2 separate regions of the Homo sapiens genome follow, and region 2 is linked to region 1. Evidence: promoter capture Hi-C in human tissues and cell types (Jung and others, 2019). All regions are on one chromosome and are shown on one strand. Each heading gives the region's core, a stretch centred on a gene start or on the middle of the fragment in contact. The rest is flanking DNA. Distances are from core to core; before and after follow the strand shown.

Region 1 (2,676 bases), core at 106-2,605:
GCCGGGAACAGGGTCCCCCGGGGCGGGTGGGAGGGCTGCTGGAGTCAGGCGGGCACACTTCAGGGGCCCAGAGCCCCCAGCAGGCCGGCCCATCCCCAGAGCTAGGGGACAGGGGCCTGGTTTCAGATCACCGGGCCCCCATCCTTAGTGTGTGCTGAGCCGCGAGGACTCCGGTCCTCCCCTCCCCCACTGAACCGTCCGGGGCTGGGGCCTTTGCTTTTTCTCCATCTTCTCCCCGTCCCTCCCCTTCTTACCAAGGGCTCAGGACCCTGCCATCCTGTGTCACTTTTTGAAAAAGGCCACTTGGGTGGGTTGTTTGTTTTTAAAGCCCCTTCCTGATGACCTTTGACCTCTGCCGGGGAAGAGAGGCCTGGCTGGGCCGTTCCACCGAGGCAGCTGCTCCCGGGGCAAACTGGAGGGTGGGGGGGGGTGGGCAGGCACCCTCGCCCCCCAAAGAGCCCAACTTAAGACCGAGGAGGAGCTGGGGCGGCGCTAGCTCGTGCGGGAGGGGGCGGGTTTGAAACCCCAACGTGCAGCTCAGCGGCTTTGCCCGACTCAGGTCTCTGTTTCCCCAGTTGTAACCCGGCAGCAGCCACACCCACTTCCCAGGCTGTTCGGGAGCCGAATACTGGGGAGCGAAGGCAGCGCACTTCCCCGTGGGGACGCACCCCAAGACCCGAAGAGGGTCCCCCTCCCCCAGCCCAGAGTGCTGGTCAACCGCCGTCCACCGTCACTTACACGCGCCCCCAGAAGTCCTGCCGCCGACCACGCGCCCTGCATCTTCGCCCGCCCCGCGCCGGCTCCCCGGACCCCGCGCCCCGGCCCCGGCCCCGGCCCCGGCCCCGCCACCCCCGTCCCTGGCCGGCCGTACTCACCATCCTGCGGCGCCGCCTCGCTGCCGCTGCTGCCCCCGGACGGCTCCCGTGCTGCGCCCTCCCGCGCCTCGGCCCTGGCCCCGGGGCGCGCCGCCAGCCGCCCGGCCGCCGCCACCTCTTCCAGGTCCAGGAGGTGGCTCACCGAGAAGTTCTTGCGCGCCTGGGCGCAGTCGCCGGGCCCCAGCGCGGGTGGAGGCGGCGGCGGCCCCGGGCCCAGCGCCGGCTTGTCCAGGGCGAAGGCGGCGGCCGCGCTGTCCATGCCCGCGAGCGGCCCCGGGGGGGCCGGCGGGGGTCTCGGGCTCGGGTCCCAGGAAGGGTCGCGGGCGCGGGTCGGAGCGAGAGCCCCGGCCGCCCCGCGCTCTGCCCAGCTCCCGCCGCCTCCTAGCCTCGCGGCCCGCCCGGCGCTGACGTCGGGGAAACAAACTTTCCGCCCTCCCCTTCTCAGCCACGGCCGCTCGCTCCGGAGCCGCTGGTGCACGCGCTGCGCCGGCCACACGCCCCTTCTTGAAGCAAACCTCGCCCCCCGTCCTCTCCTCCGCCCTCTCCTCCCCGCGCGCCTCGCCCGCCCCCACCCCGGCTGCTGGCGCTGGGGGCGGGGAAGGGGTGTCCTCCCTTCACCCTCCCCACCCACTTTTTAGGGAGTGGGAGGTTCCGTGTTTTGTCGTTTTCCATCCCCCAAGTATCTGGGAGGTGATGGCAGAGGGATTCCCCCCTTCCCTTTACAATCGCCTCCGCAGGTGGAGGGGGCGGCCCAGAGACGAAGGCGACGAGCCCCCCACTCCCAGCTCCAGCCTCACTCGCCTCAGCGCCCCCAACAACGGCCCCGCCCGCCCGCGCTGGCCGACAGAGCTCTGTGCACACCACCCGCCCCAAGGCTGTCTCTCCCAGCAGGCAGCGCATCCTCAGGCTCCTGGGGTGTACGCGACCCCCCACCCCGCCTCTCCCCCGCTGCTCCCTGCCAGGTCCCCCACACACACCCACACACCCGGTGCCCACCCCCCAGGAGGCCCCAGGCCCTTCCCCAAGGAAAACCAAGCGGAGAGGCAGGCGCTTCGTTGCAGAATTCCTGGCGCACACACAGAGGACAGCCAGCCTGAGACGGGTGACAGGAAAGAGAGAGGCAGACTTAGGTGTCCGCTCTTGTTTCAGTTTTGTTTTTCAATGAAAGCACAGAAAAGATGTGCGGAGTGAGCAGACCTGAGACCCTAAGCCCCCCGGATGCCACTGCTCTTTCTCCAGGACAGCCGCTCACCGGCCCGTCCCTCTGTCGCCCTGCCCTCACTACGAGGCATAAAGTCACATCAGCCAAAGTCGCCTACCGGAGGAAGCCTTCAGCACATCCTTTCCCTGTTCCCATATGGAAAACCGGCCCGCACACATCCCTGAAAGCCTGCGGACCATTATTTTTATTTATTATTTATTATTATTATTTATTTTTATTTTTTTGAGACAAGAGTCTGGCTCTGTCGCCCAGGCTGGAGTGCAGTGTCGTGATCTCGGCTCGCTGCAACCTCCGCCTCCTGACTTCAAGCGCTTCTCCTGCCTCAGCCTCTCGAGTAGCTGGGATTACAGGTGTGCATCACCATGCCCGGGTAATTTTTGTATTTTTAGTAGAGGAGGGGTTTCACCATGTTGGCCAGTCTGGTTTCCAGCGTCTGACCTCAGGTGATCCACCTGCCTCGGCCTCCCACAGTGCTGGGATTACAGGCGTGAGCCACCGCACCCAGCCGGGAACACTATTTTTAAGGAAAGCCTAGCAATACATTATAATACATTAATCCTCACAGCGTGTGTTGTTTGT
Region 2 (2,676 bases), core at 119-2,618, 34 kb after region 1:
CAAGTCACACATCCTGCTGAGTGCAGAGAGAAGTCCAGGGTCCCCAAATCTGCTTCTACCCCTTGGATAACAGCATCTTCTGTCTTTTGCACTCAGAGCACCCGCCCCAAGTCCTGGCTTCAAGTTCTTTTACATTTTTATTTTTTCTGGAGTGCAGTGGTGTGATCATAGCTCAATGCAGCCTCCAACTCCCGAGCTCAAGAGACCCTCCCACCTCACCCTCCGGAGCAGCTAGGACTACAGTTGTGTGCCACCATGCCTGGCTAATTATTTTTTGTAGAGATGGGGTCTCACTATGTTACAAAGGTTGGTCTTGAAGTCCTGACCTCAAGAGATTCTCCCACCTTGGCCTCCCAAAGTGCTGGGATTACGGGTGTGAGCCCATGTGCCTGGCCTGGCTTCAAGTTCTTGATATGCTCTATATGACACCTGACTCAGTGGCTTCAGGGCACAGAAAACCCTGATCAATAAAGAGAAACGACCGCAAAGCCGAGAGCACCAGCAGACCCTGGAGGGCCAGGGAAGCTTCCACGCCTCCCTTCCTCTGGCTCAGAGCACAGCAACAACTCACGGTGGGGTCCAGTCCTCCGTTAACAAGGAGTGGGGACTCTGTGCCAGGCACCGGGCTGTGAACCAGGCAGCCAGCCAGGCAGAAAACAATTCTACAGACACAACCACACCTGCAGGGAGGGCTGCAGAGGAGAAGCGCCAGTGCCAGCAGAGCACGGAGGGAGGAAGTGGAGTCGGGTGCGGGGACCAGGGAAGGCATCCCTGAGGAGGGGACGCGTAAGCTGAAACCGATGGATGGGCAAGAATAAGCGCAGTAGGTGGAGGGCGACGGCACTGCTCCTGGAGGGAAGGACAGACAGCCCTCGCGGCTGCCAGTTCCTGGTCTCACAGTCAACTCTAGCAGTTTCGACTGCATCCTACAGAGCAATGAGTCAACCACCCTGAGGCCCAACAGAGAGTGGCCCGGGAAGACCGATGCTTCTGAAGACTGCTGGCGGCGGTGGAGATGGCAGGGGGATGAGGAGACGGTTGCCACGGTAGAAGGAGAGAGAACTAGAAAGCCTCAGCTGGGTCCTGGCAGCAGAGCCCAGGCCCACCTCACCCTTCAGGACAGCGATGACAGTTGGGCGGCTCCGTGCTCCACGGGTGGCCATTCTGCCATAAGCTTCCCAAGGCACAGTGCTGTCACCAAGGCACACCACGCTTAGGGGCTGTTCTAGTTGCTGTGAGGCTTGCCAAGACCTCAGAGAGCTCTAGTCCAGGAGGACAAAGAACAAAGGGAAAGAAAATACACAGCAGAAAAATAAGGATTCTCATGGACCCACAAAGTGTCGAGGACACTCAAAGGGCAGAGGAATCTCCTCCCAACAGCAGATAGGGGCAGCCGCCTGGAGGAGGCAGCCCGAGCTGGGCAGCCAAGCACAGGGAGTGCTGGAGGGGGTGGGGCAGACAGAGGGAGCAGCCGTGGGACAGCATGGGCCATCAGAGGGCGGAGAGTGGAGCGGGGGAAGACTGTGGAAGGTGAGCTCGGAAAGGCAGACGGGGCCTGGATGAGGGTGGCCTCGAGTGCATGCTGGGCACCAACTCTCGGCTGATGTGTTTCCCACACTGCCAAGGCCTAACCTAAAGGAGGCAGAGTGAGAATGGCAGTGGCCGTGCTGAGGACACACAGCAACAGTGGGTGGTAGGAATCCCAGCAGCAGCAGCTGCTACATCCTGATAAACCCATGGTAAAGGGAAAATACCCTCGGTGGAAAACGCGCAGCTGACTGGGAGCTGCAGCTCACCGCCTCGCACGTGCTGCCTCCACACGAGGAGAGCAGGGGGCTTCTAGCAAATGCCTGTCGCCAAAGTTGACAAATCGTAGGTCCAAGACCGTCTGCCTGACTCCTGGAGCTACAGGGTCAACACGGAAGAGTCCACATATGGAACTCGGGTACAGTCCTCAAACACAACTCAAAGCTTAAGACCCAGGAACACTCTAGGGGCTTCAAGAGAAGTGGTCAGAGGGAAACGGGAAAATGCCCTGAGAAGGAGCACGAGGCCTTTGGGAAGCAACTATGAGGAAAGAGAAGGGAAACTAAACACAAGACAAGCTGGAGAATTTTTTCTTCTTTTTTTTTAGAAAGGGTCTCACTGTCGCCAGACTTGAGTACAGCTCAGGTGATCCTCCCATCTCAGCCTCCAGGGTAGCTGGGACTGCAGGCACATACCGCCACACCTGGCTAACTTTTGTATTTTCTGTAGATATGGAGTTTTGCCACGTTGCCCAGGCTGGTCTCAAACACCTGGCTGCAAGCAATCCACCTGCCTCAGCCTCCCAAGGTGTTGGGATTACAGGCAGAAACCACTGCACCCAGCCAAGATTTTTCATTGGTCAAATTTGTTACTGGCCCCAGAACTATATTCTGCACTACTATATTCTGAACCTGTCCTGAAAGAGAAGGAACTTTCCAGAAGCAGTAGGCCCACCCCGCCCAGCCAGCTCAAGAATACTTCTAACAGATGCAACGGGGTTCTTCTTAGATCCGTGATTGGGTCTTCTCACCCTTAGCAGAATCCTTTGGCTGTGCCTAGAGAGAAGCCTGCTTAAACTTCTCTTCAGATTCTTGTTTTTTTGAGATGGGGTCTTACTATGTGGCCCAGGCTGGCCCCAAACTCCTGGGC

What was found. Contacts are between HindIII fragments. The study calls those that stand out against the background at their distance.
Region 2: a fragment that was not itself captured here is called in contact with the fragment with the promoter of PRRX2 in region 1 in 6 of the 25 tissues and cell types used here (aorta, liver, lymphoblastoid cells and 3 more).

Annotation. Positions count from the first base shown.
Region 1 is chr9:129,664,326-129,667,001 of GRCh38, reverse strand. It overlaps PRRX2 (paired related homeobox 2), which reads right to left and starts at 1,355. Exons shown (of 4, transcript NM_016307.4): 1 at 876-1,355. The coding sequence starts at 1,134. The HindIII fragment of the contact is 13,961 bases long and covers 1-2,676 here.
Region 2 is chr9:129,629,886-129,632,561 of GRCh38, reverse strand. All of the region lies in intron 1 of NTMT1 (N-terminal Xaa-Pro-Lys N-methyltransferase 1), which reads right to left. Among named protein-coding and RNA genes, the nearest start is that of NTMT1, 5.1 kb to the right of the region's middle. RefSeq lists an enhancer at 421-1,211. The HindIII fragment of the contact is 4,298 bases long and covers 1-2,676 here.